Linked DNA regions of Homo sapiens: region 2 is linked to region 1. Evidence: promoter capture Hi-C in 16 types of primary human blood cells and fetal thymus (Javierre and others, 2016). All regions are on one chromosome and are shown on one strand. The core of a region is centred on a gene start or on the middle of the fragment in contact, and the rest is flanking DNA. Distances in the headings are between cores, read along the strand shown.

What was found. The method cuts DNA at HindIII sites, captures the fragments that hold promoters and counts their contacts. A CHiCAGO score of 5 or more calls a contact.
Region 2: a fragment that was not itself captured here is called in contact with the fragment with the promoter of LHX8-AS1 in region 1 in 1 of 17 cell types (endothelial precursors); the score reaches 5.3 in endothelial precursors.

The regions. Positions count from the first base shown.
Region 1 is chr1:75,129,237-75,135,683 of GRCh38, reverse strand. LHX8-AS1 (LHX8 antisense RNA 1) reads left to right here and starts at 3,108. Exons shown (of 2, transcript NR_187397.1): 1 at 3,108-3,330; 2 at 3,731-6,447. LHX8 (LIM homeobox 8) reads right to left here and starts at 1,296. Exons shown (of 9, transcript NM_001256114.2): 1 at 730-1,296. RefSeq lists enhancers at 479-991, 3,149-4,348 and a silencer at 5,254-5,454. The HindIII fragment of the contact is 3,701 bases long and covers 1,827-5,527 here.
Region 2 is chr1:74,787,567-74,794,013 of GRCh38, reverse strand. No RefSeq gene overlaps it. Among named protein-coding and RNA genes, the nearest start is that of TYW3, 58 kb to the right of the region's middle. The HindIII fragment of the contact is 2,030 bases long and covers 2,847-4,876 here.

The DNA of each region.
Region 1 (6,447 bases), core at 1,859-4,358:
AAACGAAAACGCAGCGTCCCTGGGCTTAGACCGCTTTCGTTTCCAAAAACTCTAGCTCGGGGGCGGGTGGGTACCCCGAACTCGAGCGGCTCGCACTTCTGCATTTCTGACTGTTCGCCTCCCCTTCTCCCTCCCTCTGGAAGCACCAGGCAAGATACCAACCTGGGGGCCTCCCGGACCGTCGGCCGAGACCCTCCCTTTCTGGGGTGCGCTCCCTACGCGGGACCCAGCGTAGCTGCACTGAGGCCGCGTCCTCACACACAAAGGGCGTTTAAACAGAACAGCTCCGCTTTCGCCTGGTGTCCCCAACCGGCTTCGGAGCAAAGAAATAGTCAGGGGCGCCCCGCGCGCGTCCTGCTGAGGCCCTCAGACAGGCTGCAGATGATTTCAAACTTAAAACACCAAATACCCACAGGTCCTGCCTCCCGAGTGAGGTGAGAGCTTGTCAGCTTCCCCAGTCTACTCAGACAAACCGCGTGACTCGTTTTGTGCCCTGCGGTTTTCTTTTGGCATTTTAGGTAAAATGGCTCTCCCGGCAAGCCCAGGGATCCCGGAGGCCTTTCTGGAGCCCCGCAGAGGGAGGTGTGCCTCAGGGCAGGCAAGTGTCCGCGGGCAGCCGAACGAAACGAGCCAGGTCTCCGGTTCCACCCGACAGCCGCCCAGTCCTCCCGACCCACTCTCCCGGACCGCCACGATCACCACAGCAAATAGAACAAAAGCACGACTCACATGGACCTGAGAGCGCCTTAGGCTCGAGGCTTCATCTCCCAAATTACAGTCTCCATGTCTCAGGTTAAGTGAGCTTTTGGGGAGGGAGTGCAATGATTACTGACTAACGCTACTACGTAATAAAAAAAAAAAATTGCCAGGTCTGAAGATGAGGCCGTTACAGGTAGTTTCTGAACCTTGTTTAGGAGCCCAAACAACTCGAGTTTCAAGGACACTGCGATTCAGCTGGTCTGGCCAGGCGTCGGCTCGCTCACCTTCTCAGGGGGAACTGCCAGCTCCGGCACGTCCTTTGCTACTAGTTTACACACAAACATCTGATCGTTCTTCCAATACATGGCACTGCTAGGGCTGCTTATCACATACCAACTCCAGAGGGTCAGAGGCTGTCCGTGTCTGCCGATCTCCCCCCTCCCCCGCCCCGATCCACTAATAAAAGCTGATGCCGAGAAGGATAATGCTACAAGTGTGTCTTCGTCCAAAGAGGCCGCTGTGGCCTGACCACTTTCTGATGAACCGTTCTTAAAATTCCTTTCCCAGCTTCACTGAGCTCTGAGTGAAGTGAGCACTGAGCTTTTCCTGAGTCCCTCCAGGAAAAGAAAAAAAAAAAAGTTTTGTTTTCCAGAGGGTGGAACCTAATATAAAGGAAGGGGGCGTGTGGGGGAAAGTCTTTCCTGGAGAAATTGCTTCGCCTCTTTCAGGAAAACCCGCCTTCTCTACATGTTAAAATCTTTATCAGAACACGCCAACTGACTTCAGGTTTAGTACTAAAGAAAAAAAAATTGGGGGATGTCCTGTTAACTTGACTTTAAAAAATCTGCTGTCTGCATTTGCCATAACTTTTAAATTCTCGCTCCCCAACCCAAACCTAAACAAAGATTCAGGTTACATCTCTTTCTGCAGCAAGCAGAAGGGGAAGTGGAGGTCTGGGTGACTTGAAAGTTTTAGTCATTCTCTTGAAACTCGCAGCTGTCCGGTGTAGCCGAGGAATGCCACCGCTCCTGGCAGCCTGGGAGCTGACTTATCTAGCAGTTCGCGCTCCCTTTCCGAAAAGTTTTCTCATTAAGATAAAGAAGGAACATCTGAGCAACACAAAAGCTTATGATTTGCGACTAGATTTGAAATCAAGGCTACAAGAAAGACAAAAGTATGTTGCTAATGAGTATTGCTCTTTCATCTCCTAGACAAAATGTAAGCCCGAGCAGCCTTGTCTTCTGCCTCAAGTTCTGACTGCGGGGCGGGGAAGCGGCGGAGGGAGGTATTCAGGGTACCTTAATTTTGATTAAGATTGGAAGGTGTGTTTGTTTAAACAGACTCTTTGTGGTATAAACTTTATTTCATTATTTAGTGTATAAAGACAAATTTGGTTAAAAGATTATTTTTAAATGATTTTTGTTTCCATTTAAAAAGCTAAACTTCTGAAACTAAGAAGATCTAGGAGTCTATTTCTTAAAGGCCTTTAACAGAATCATAGGATTTTGCTTTAATTAGATGGAAATATATATGTAAAACACACACACGCACACACACATATCTTATCTCCTTGCCTTATTTGTATAGAAGAAAAAGAGCGAAATGATCTTGCCCAGACCCCAGCTCGGTCAGCAGCCGGCTAGCGGAGGAGATAGATAGCCTTTCCTGTGATGAAGTGAGCCTGTGTAAGAGTCTGGGACCGAGTTACCACTACAAATTTAGTTTTTCCTCCATTGCATTTTTCTCCCATAAACACTAGAGTCTTCAGAGCATTTTCCTATCGCCATTGTTTTTCTTTTCGCGCAGCTGCGCACAAGTTAATATTAGCCATCCCCCTGCCGGTCCTCTCTGGGAGATCTCGTTTAAATTTACTGAGCGAAGGGAGGAGGACGATATAATTAATCTGTGCCCTCTTAGAAAATTGAAAGATTGGGGTGGACTGACTTTTCAAAAAGCTAACTTGTGCGTGGGAACCAGAAAGACTTGTGTTTTTCATCAAATGCAGAAATCGGTATTGGGGGTGGTGGAGAAATTCACATAATGCATTTTCCATGAAATAGCATCGTTGTGGAGACCGCTCTTCCGAATGGAAAGTCAGAGTCGTGCAGAACATTGGCGCCATCAGGTCGTGTATAGAGCAGGATTTCGTTGAAAGTGGAATTAAACATAAAGGTCCGGTTTGGATATTTAATTACAGTGTGTGTGTGTGTGTGTGTGTGTGTGTGTGTTAGGGTTTAAAGTGAATCTGGGGTACTGTCTGGCTACTATCGAGGAGAATTTATCGCGCGGGTCATTTGGAGATCCAGAGAGAGCTGGAGCTGTGTTAGGGAAGCAGGGCGGGGGTGCGGGCATTTATGCGGTCTTTCCACCCACCCTCGCCTAATCAGGCGGCTCTCAGTCAGGTTTTCAAAATACTAACCTTGATCTAAGAGCGTCTATCTCTGCATAAGTGGAGAAAATGATTCATTTTTAGAGGTTTCTGGGCTTGGGGAAGAAGAATGGTCGTCAGACAGGAGCAGAAGACGTGAAAGATTGGTCTGGCCTCGCTTTACTCCAGGCGCCTTGTGGGATGCTGACCTGTCCCGGGGTGCAGCTGCGCGCACCCCTCCTTGAGCTGTAAGCCTCTGGGCGGTGAGTCAATTTCTATGTCCTGGGCGGTATAAGCCTTTGGCTGGGGGTCGAGTGTGCAAGAAGAGGGGAATGTGTTTGCTATGAATCCCAGGGCTGATCGTCCTGTCGGTCTGGGGTCCAACGACCTTCTGACCTTTTGTCAGGGGTGGGCGTACGAAGGTATAGCTTCTTCCTGGTGGCCCGGTTCCCTGGAGCTCGCGTCACGCCTCTTACCCACGCTCATCCTCGGCTGGGGCAACGGAAAAGTTATCTTCCTACTTTACAGGGGTGCGCTAAAAATCAAAAGAGTTTTTGTTTGTTTGTTTGGTCTTAGTAATGAGGGTTTTTAGCCCAAACGCCAATTGATTCCAATTTTGAACGAAGACTCTGATCAAAAAAACATCATCTTATGTGTCCACAGGTGGAAAAGCAATCGCCTGCGTCGTGACAGTTCCTACCTACTAAATTGAAAATTTGAAAATCAGAGGCGGCAGGCCCACCCAAGGTGTCTACCAACATCCGTGGACCACAGGGCTTTTTGCAAGCCCATGGGAAAGACAGCCTGAGAGACTTCGGAGTGCGTCCTGTCCCAGGCTGTGCCTCTCCTGCTTAAGGGAAGCCTTGAGTGTATCTCCCTAAAAACAGATGGGGGCAGGGAAGGGGTCTAGATCCCGTGGAGCCAGGCCTTGATTGGAGGTCCGGGCTGGAGAGAGGGAACATCAACCCGCCCTGACCCCCACAGCTTCCACTCACCCGAAGAGCTGCCTAATTGGGCTGCGAGCAGCTGCGAAATTTGTAATCGTCTAATGAGCCTTCCGCCTCGGTAATTCTTATCAAAAGGCATAAAACTGATATTTTCACACTCAGCTCGCACTGCAGGCGCCGTTTATAAACATCCTTCATCAGTGGGATGAAATTAAGCCTGCATTGACAGAGGTCTCTGGAACTCGATATTTAAAAGCAATAGATCCGAATTAGCAAATTATAACTTTAAGTAGGGAAAGTCCCCACCAACTTGACTATTGAACCCTTTGCCTCTGAGCTCCTCGGGGTGAGTAACCACACGTTTGAGAGAACTTAACCTGGAGGTTCTGCGGTGCTCAGGCAATCTCCGGAAACTCGGATTCCCGAAACTGCCCCTGCTACGGCTCCTCCCGCCCGCCTTCTAGGGACTCGCCTGGGTCAGACCTGTGGAGATCGGGGCGAGGCACAGCTGGAGCCTGAGAGAAAACGTGGTCAAAGGAGGCGCATCCAGGACTCCCGGGCGGCCTGCAGGCGCAGAAACAGAGCCCTGCTCTTGCGGACCCGAGCTTTCCCTGGCCCGCGGCCCTCACCGCCCACCTCCAGGGCTCCAGCGCCAAGGGTACAGTGGGCCATAGGACTGTAGGAGGCGGTGGAGGATGGGGAGACTTTCGCGATCATAAGAAGGTGCGGATTCTGGCAGAATTCTGGTTGGCGACTCCTTCGATCCCTGAAGGTGAAATCTCAGCTAAAACCACTCTGAAACTGTGGATGTCACACTTGGTTCAGGGTTAGGAGACCGTGTCTTTGGATTTTTGCCCATCACGTGTAACCATTATAAATATTAGTCTGGAAAAAGACTTTAGGAGATTGCTTCTAGAGGTTCTTTCCACAAACTTACCCTGCTCAGAATCTGCATAACCCCTCAGAGATGGCAGAGCTGTATACGGGCTCACCTTGGGACTTACCGGTCCCAGACTCCGTTTTATACCTTGCTACCCACAGTTTCTGAGGGTAAGAGAGGGGTGCTTTTATTCACGCCAGTGGAGGTCGCCAAAAGCGGGCGAGGGCCTCCGTCTGGGACCCACTGGTCTCTCTCCCACTGTGGGCCAAGACTGAGGTTTGATGGGCTTCCCAGCTGGGCAAGCCTGCTCCACGCGGGACACCCGGGAATCCACTGGCGGGCAGACCCTGCCTTCGCCACCCGCCCCGCGGCATTCCTCACTGCGGTCTGATGCGCCAGCTGGGGCCAGTTGTTTCAAGCGGTTCTGGAGGACCAATAGCGGAAAGCCAAGTTCTGCGACCAAGAGTCTGTACGAGTGACTCGGTGTTTCTTTCCAGCCGGTTCGCAGAGCGCCAGTAAGCTCTCCCGGTCCGCTACGGAAGAAATAGGGGAAGCGTTTCCAGTCTAAGAGAGAGGATGGGAGAGAGAAAATTAGGAACCACGCCGAAATTAAGCAGGGCAGCCTGGAAAGCTTCCCGGCTAAAAGCTATGGCGCGAAACGCTAAAGTCCATCACACCATTTATTCATTGTGACATTTCCAAGCCGACAATAGCGCCTTAAGCACGCCTGTGGTTTGGAGGTGCCGGTTTTATATGCATTTTACTGTTTAGAATGATAAACAAATCAGGACCAATGGAAACCTGATTCTAACCTCTTTCTACAGAACTCTGCCTGCATAATTCTGTAAAAGCCGAAATCCAAGGTGGCCAGAGAGAGAGAGAGAGAATCCAACTCTCTACCCGCCTCCCTTTACCGCGTTTCCCTACAAGTCCTAGGCAAACCGGGCAGATATAGCCTGGAGTTCGCTGATCAAGAAAGAGGATGGAACCGAGGCCCTTCAGGCTTCTCCTCCCCTTCCACATCCCCGTTTTCCCACTTCCCCAGGGATGTCTGAAAGCCCAACTCGGCCAGTGTGGCAGGAAAGTTAAACTTTATCTAAGTGCAAAAACCAGATGGTTTTCTCGGTTTCTGGGGATAGGTGAGAGGCAGAAGTGGGGCTGTGTGAGCCTCCTATTCACAGGCTTGGATGACATTTTGATAAGGGAACCCTCAGCTCAAGTTGTTAGCCAGGGTGAATGAGCCCCACACAAGCCTGCGCCGACCGCCCACAACTTTGGTGTCTAAGGTTCTCCCCAGCAACACTTCCACCTCCGGTGTAACTCGTAAAGCTATGCTTTTACAAAAAAAAAGTTGGCCCAAGAATCTTGAGCCATGAATTTTAAAAACTTAAATAACTTCTATATGCCATTTCTGCTACAGGAGACTGGTTCTTGTAACTGTGGCAAGGTTTTCTTCCTTTCCTTCCTATCCTCCTCCTCTCCCTTCCTCCTTCCCTGCTTGCCTTCCTTCCTTCATGGGAGTTCAGGGTTTAAGAGGTAGGCAACGTGTTATT
Region 2 (6,447 bases), core at 2,612-5,111, 340 kb after region 1:
TTCCCCTACTAAATGCTGGTTGTCACTTTTAATTTAGAAAAACATCACTATACTCTCCACTTCCTTCTTTAGAATTTGCCTGTGAGTATCTCAAAGCTCTTCATCCACGTGAGGGAGGTATTGCAGTTTTTCCGGGGTATTCAGTTGTGGTGTTAGCCCCATTTTATAGACTGAACAAATGGAGATTTCTAAAAGTCTCAAGGCTTTCTAGCTACTGCTTTGAAAGGTAGTTCCAGTCAAGAAGCAAAGTATTAGTTGCTACTTTGAAACCTAAAATGTCAACACCAGGCAGTGCTCTGTGGAAAAATATCAGCAAAATGTTCACAGCATTAAAATCTACCCTGACGGACTCTCTGTCAGCTGTGGCTGACAGGTTTTCAGCACTTTTCCACTTGTAGGATGTGGGTGGTCTCCAGGACCAGCCCTGGTAGAGCTGGTTGGTGAATTGGATGGGACTTGAGGAGGAGAGAGGTACTTGGAAAAGAGAGGGCGAGCTGGAGGTAGGGGAGGCTTTTACCAATGAAAGCAGACACAGCAGAATACCTGGACCCTACAAGGGAACCATTGAACAAGCTATTCATTAATCAAGGGAGCTGGGATTTAGAGTTGTAATAGAAAAGGCAGAAAAATCCTCATTTGTAAATAGGAAATGGGAAATTTCACCATAGTAACCATAAACAAGGAGTTTAAAGTGAGTTAAAGGGTTTTCCTAATATACTTCTTACCCTTCCTTTGCTTTCTTCTCCTCTTCCTTTTTTTTTTCTAGAAGTCTCTCTAATATCCATCCGTCAAAGGTGGTCCATGAGATATTGTCAAGAGACAGCTTAGCAGTTTGACCCTTTCAGATCCTGAACCATGAGATGCTCATTGATTGGATTCTGTGCCCTCAAGTAACATGATTCATTCCACTCAACTAAGAAATTTAACTTTTCACCTTCCACTCAGTTAAAAAGAAAATAAACCTCTTAGCAATGTGGGACATACCTGTATCTTGAGCACTGAAACTAACCCAGTGTTTTCAAGGAAATATAGTCTTTATATAATGTTTAGGTATTAGCCTAACAAAAATCATCTAGGAGTCATTAAGGAAGTGGCTGAACTGTGCAAGTACAAATTTCTGATTTGTTAATAAAATGAACTTTTCGTTCTAAAAGACCAAATGCCAGTTTCCTGTGTGAACACTATATTGATCTGGCTTATATTCTAAACATGGCCACTCAAAAGAAATCTTGCAAGATTCTGGCTTGCCCTTTGTATTGACAGATTCAGATCTCAACTATATCAGACCTAACTCTTAAGTCTCTTTGTTAGGGACCAGCAATAAATTACTTGAGGTCAAGTTCTGTTTATACAGTGGACTGTTCTAAGAGAATTACCTTCTTGACTTAATAGCTTCCTTTTGGGTGACATTTCTCCCTGAAAGAAGACAAATTGTCTAAGGTCAGTCTGCAGATCAGTTCCGAGTGTAGGGGGAAATTGTAGTGGATCAACAAAATTGCACCAGTTCTACCAACCAGCATTAGGCAGCATGCCGCCAGTCAGAGGCAGACCCTGAGGGACTACAGCCAGAGCTCCTTGAAAGAGCAGAGTTTTCAATTCTTTCTTTTTGGGCTGCTCTTGACTTTTATTTTCTCAGGCTCCACCAAAAAACAAAAACAAACAAACAAACAAAAACAAAAAACAACAACAAAAAGCCCAAAACAAAAAAACTCCTGCATTAACAATGAAATAAGGTCTATTAAACTCTTCATTCAGTGCTGAGTTGCTTTAAAAGTTTGTTTCCCTCCATCTACCAAGGCTAATTTGAAAGTTGAACAAAAAGAGAGGGTGAATTTCAGACTCAACTTGAGCTTGAATCTGTTCTGTTTCATCTATCGGAATGACTAAGTGAACCCCAAATTTCCATTTTAAAAAGGGAAACTTTAGAAATTAGAAGTGGACTTAAAGCAATTAACAAGCTTCAGGATACTAAAAATTGAGTAATTTATTCTTAAAGTTATATGTATTCTACATGAAGAAATTTAAAAACACAACTACCTCATTACATATTCACCTACAATGGAATTGGTAGATTTGCCTTTTTACTCCTCCTTTAGAGGAAAAACAGAGAAAGAGAGAAAAAATAGAAGCACAAGTCTCTTTTTAATTAAGCATTTTATCCTTTGAAGTTATTCTGATTTTTTTTCACATTGATGATGTAATTTATGTAAATAATCATCTATCTATGAAAGGAGTGTGTCTGTCAAAAGCTGAAATAAAAAACATCCGTCATTTTGAAGTGATTAACATTCTCCAGATGTTTAAATCATCAGATTTCAGGAGTTTCTCTTTGTTGTGATAATGATATAGTATCCAGAACAAGAATGTTTACTTTTTTCTGTGGGTCAAACGCAGATTTTTCACAATCCTATTAAGGCATGCAGCTCATTATAATTGTATGTACAGATGAAAGCATATTCAGTTATTATTATTCCCCTTAATTGTAAACTGCTGCTGGTAATTTTACTGTAAAGCTCAAACAAAAGGAGAATACTTGAAAGGACCACCACTGCCCACTTATGTAATCAATTTATATATGTCAAGTTTGTACTGGGATGGTTATCCCCTTCTGTTACCAGACATGTGACATGCTACCACCCTGCAGCTTGGGGCCATGCATGCATGTCTCTGGCTCCTTTTGCAGGCTGCTTGGAAATACAGTACATGTCGGTAATAATGTTAAATGACAGCTTCAAACTATTTCCCTTAGGCCTGTTTGACCCGTGGGTTCAAGGTAAAACAGGAATGGTTCCGCTTACCTTCAAGACCTGAGCATCCTCACCACTGGCAAATTTAACTTGGAAGCTTGGTGAGGTTCCCTGGAGATCCAATTACCCTTGTTAGGGGACCTATTGAAACATTAATGACATGTAACCACTTCATTCATAAAGTTGGGCTCAGCTCATGCCTAGCATTACCTCCCACACACCCGCTTCACATCTGAAGTGCTTGTAGGGTTTTATTAAAACCGTTTGACTAGGGCACAAGCTGACTACACGCTTATTATATGCTACCTCAACGCAGATAAGGCTGAGAGGGGGTTCTCAATCTCCATGTGCCAGTGCAGTCTTATAGAATTGCATTAATTAAGAACAAGAGATATACAGAATAATGTCTCCAGAGCTGTTCATTATTCATGCTTCTGGTGGTTTTTTTTTTTTTTTTGTCTGTTGTGCTGCTGACATATATGTTCAGGAATTTAATGTGGTACTATTCCATACATTGCCATACAATTTTTCTCTCTCAAACATACCAACAGAAGGAGGAAATGTCTTCTTTTTGTGTTCTTGTGAGAAATCAAAGCACTGAAATTGTTAGATGATGATGAGTCAGACATAGAATACCTTCTTTCTTACTGGACTGAAGCCTTGGTAATAGGCTAATAATTAATAGTTACCATCTGCTATTCCTTGTGCCCTACCTTCAGATCATTCTTCATTTGTATTTGAACACACACATTCCTTTTAATCATTCCATGGCCATTACAGTACTTTGATAAACCTTCAGTCCCTAAAATGTTTCCAAATCACCCCCATCTGACATGGACCCTTGAATTAGAACTTTATTAAAGAGGAAATGTGTCTAGTAAGTGACAAAGGGCTGGAGCATTGGGCTGGGAATCAGGTAACTGGGGCTGTCTTCATTGTTATGTCCAAGCATCAAAGCAGGCACCTCAGCCAGTCCATTGGTTCAGTGCATTAGCATTTTGTTCTTACCTTTCCTGAACAAATGTAGTGGCCTCTTCTTTCACGTAAGAATGGGTTTCAACCCTCCTGTCTATGTACCCCTCATTTTTCCTCTATCTAGAAGAATGTTGACTCTGGGATTATCATGAGACCTGAACATCATTCTTTCTCTAAATTAGAGAAACACATTTGCTTCCATGGTTTTATACATTTCAATTATGTTTCCACCGGATATTGAAAGGATCCAAAATGTCTTGGGTAAAAGAAAAAAAAAATGTGCAGGGGAATCTGGGGACATAGCAACTCTATTTTTTATTTATCACCATCATCATCACAGCTACTCTTCACTTAACATTGATAGAGCACATTTTAAATCTTCATATCAAATTAAAATGAGAATATTATTTCAAAATTTTAAAATGGTTCCAGATAGGGTAAATGACTTAACCAAGGTCTTAGATTTGTTTATTCATTGATTGAATATCTAGTTTGCTGAGCACTGTACTTTATGTTTATCATAGAGCAGGAATAAAATAACGATTTCCTGTACTAGGAAAGAAGCAGAGCCAACACTAGAAACTTAGGGTCAGACTGCTTCTGCTTCTATTTCCCATTTTTTCCCCTGACATCTGGACCCATTGTTTTTAAGCATAAAAATAATTTTCTGTTGTGATTTGTTTTTATTTGACAATTAACCTCACGAAACAAATGGTGGCCACACTTCTCCAGGGAGGATAGGCAATGGCTATAGAGGAGAAGAAAGAGCACGCAATTTATTTTCTCAAATTATTAACCCTTCACATTATGATACTTCTTTTTTCCTGAGATCCCAAACTAATGTCTTTACTGATAAACCAAATCATATCATTGGCAGAACAGAGTTCTTTTTGATAGGATAAAATTTCCTAGACCAATTTTAGACTCATTGGGAAATTTGTAGTAATCTTCAAAATGGCTAAAAATGTTAATGGTGAACCTTTCATCTTGAGCAACCTCTCACCCATGAGCTACTATCATAGATCAATGATGTTCAAGAGCATAAATATGTAAAGTTGAACAAACAATGGGGAAGGTATCAGTAGGACATTCTTAAGATTGACCAGTCCTCCCAGATCTCTAGCAAGTAATTTAGCAGGAGATGGAGAGAAGCTTTCTTATTTTTGTATTAATACCATATTAAATAGACTCCTTAATGAAGTCTGTAGATGTTCCCTTCTTTAGCTTTTAAGACTTTTGAATTAATGTACTTAAGTCTCAGGCAATTTTCTTCTGTTTCATTTCCTTGATACAAAAAAATGTGACATGCAGTTTAAGTCTGAGTATTTTTAAAATTTCAGTATGAATGGCTATAGTCTGTTGGCAGAATCAGAATAATGTGTTTTGGTAATTTGTTATGCAAATGAATCTTAAAAAAATTCTTTATCCCATTTCTCTCTCTTCGCCTTCCTCGTCTCCCTCTCCTTTCTCCTTTCCCCTTCCTACCATTTGCTTTTCTTGATATATTGGTTATAAAGACTCACTGTCTCTACCTTCTTAGTCTATATTGGATCAAATTGTTTCAACAGATATTGTATCTAGGCCCTAGCAAACATTTCTTAGCTCTTCACTTTAAGGCCATGTTTTTCATCCCCTCACTCACTGCTAGGTTAATCTTCCTCATATTTCATTTTCATGTTAGTAAATAACCACTAGCTAATATAAAATCCAAACTCCTTTGGATTTTTTAAATTTTATTTTATTATTATTATACTTTAAGTTTTAGGGTACATGTACACAATGTGCAGGTTAGTTACATATGTATACATGTGCCATGCTGGTGTGCTGCACCCATTAACTCGTCATTTAGCATTAGGGATATCTCCTAAAGCTATCCCTCCCCCCTCCCCCCACCCCACAACAGTCCCCAGACTGTGATGTTCCCCTTCCTGTGACCATGTGTTCTCATTGTTCAATTCCCACCATACTGAGAATGATGATTTCCAATTTCATCCATGTCCCTACAAAGGACATGAACTCATCATTTTTTATGGCTGCATAGTATTCCATGGTGTATATGTGCCACATTTTCTTAATCCAGTCTATCATTGTTGGACATTTGGGTTGGTTCCAAGTCTTTGCTATTGTGAATAGTGCCGCAATAAACATACGTGTGCATGTGTCTTTATAGCAGCATGATTTATAGTCCTTTGAGTATATACCCAGTAATGGGATGGCTGGGTCAAATGGTATTTCTAGTTCTAGATCCCTGAGGAATCGCCACACTGACTTCCACAATGGTTGAACTAGTTTACAGTCCCACCAACAGTGTAAAGGTGTTCCTATTTCTCCACATCCTCTCCAGCACCTGTTGTTTCCTGACTTTTTAATGATCGCCATTCTAACTGGTGTGAGATGGTATCTCATTGTGGTTTTGATTTGCATTTCTCTGATGGCCAGTGATGGTGAGCATTTTTTCATGTGTTTTTTGGCTGCATAAATGTCTTCTTTTGAGAAGTGTCTGTTCATGTCCTTCGCCCACTTTTTGATGGGGTTGTTTTTTTTTTTTTTTTGATCATTTATATGTTCTTTTTAATCATCTCACCCTCTCATAACTCATTTCTGGGTTAGCATCTTTAGTAAGTATATTATGTAACAGTTTACCATTTACAATGTAGCTACACAACTGATAGTCCATGAGAGACTCCCAAAAATCTTAGATGAAGCTTGGAGATAATAAACTACT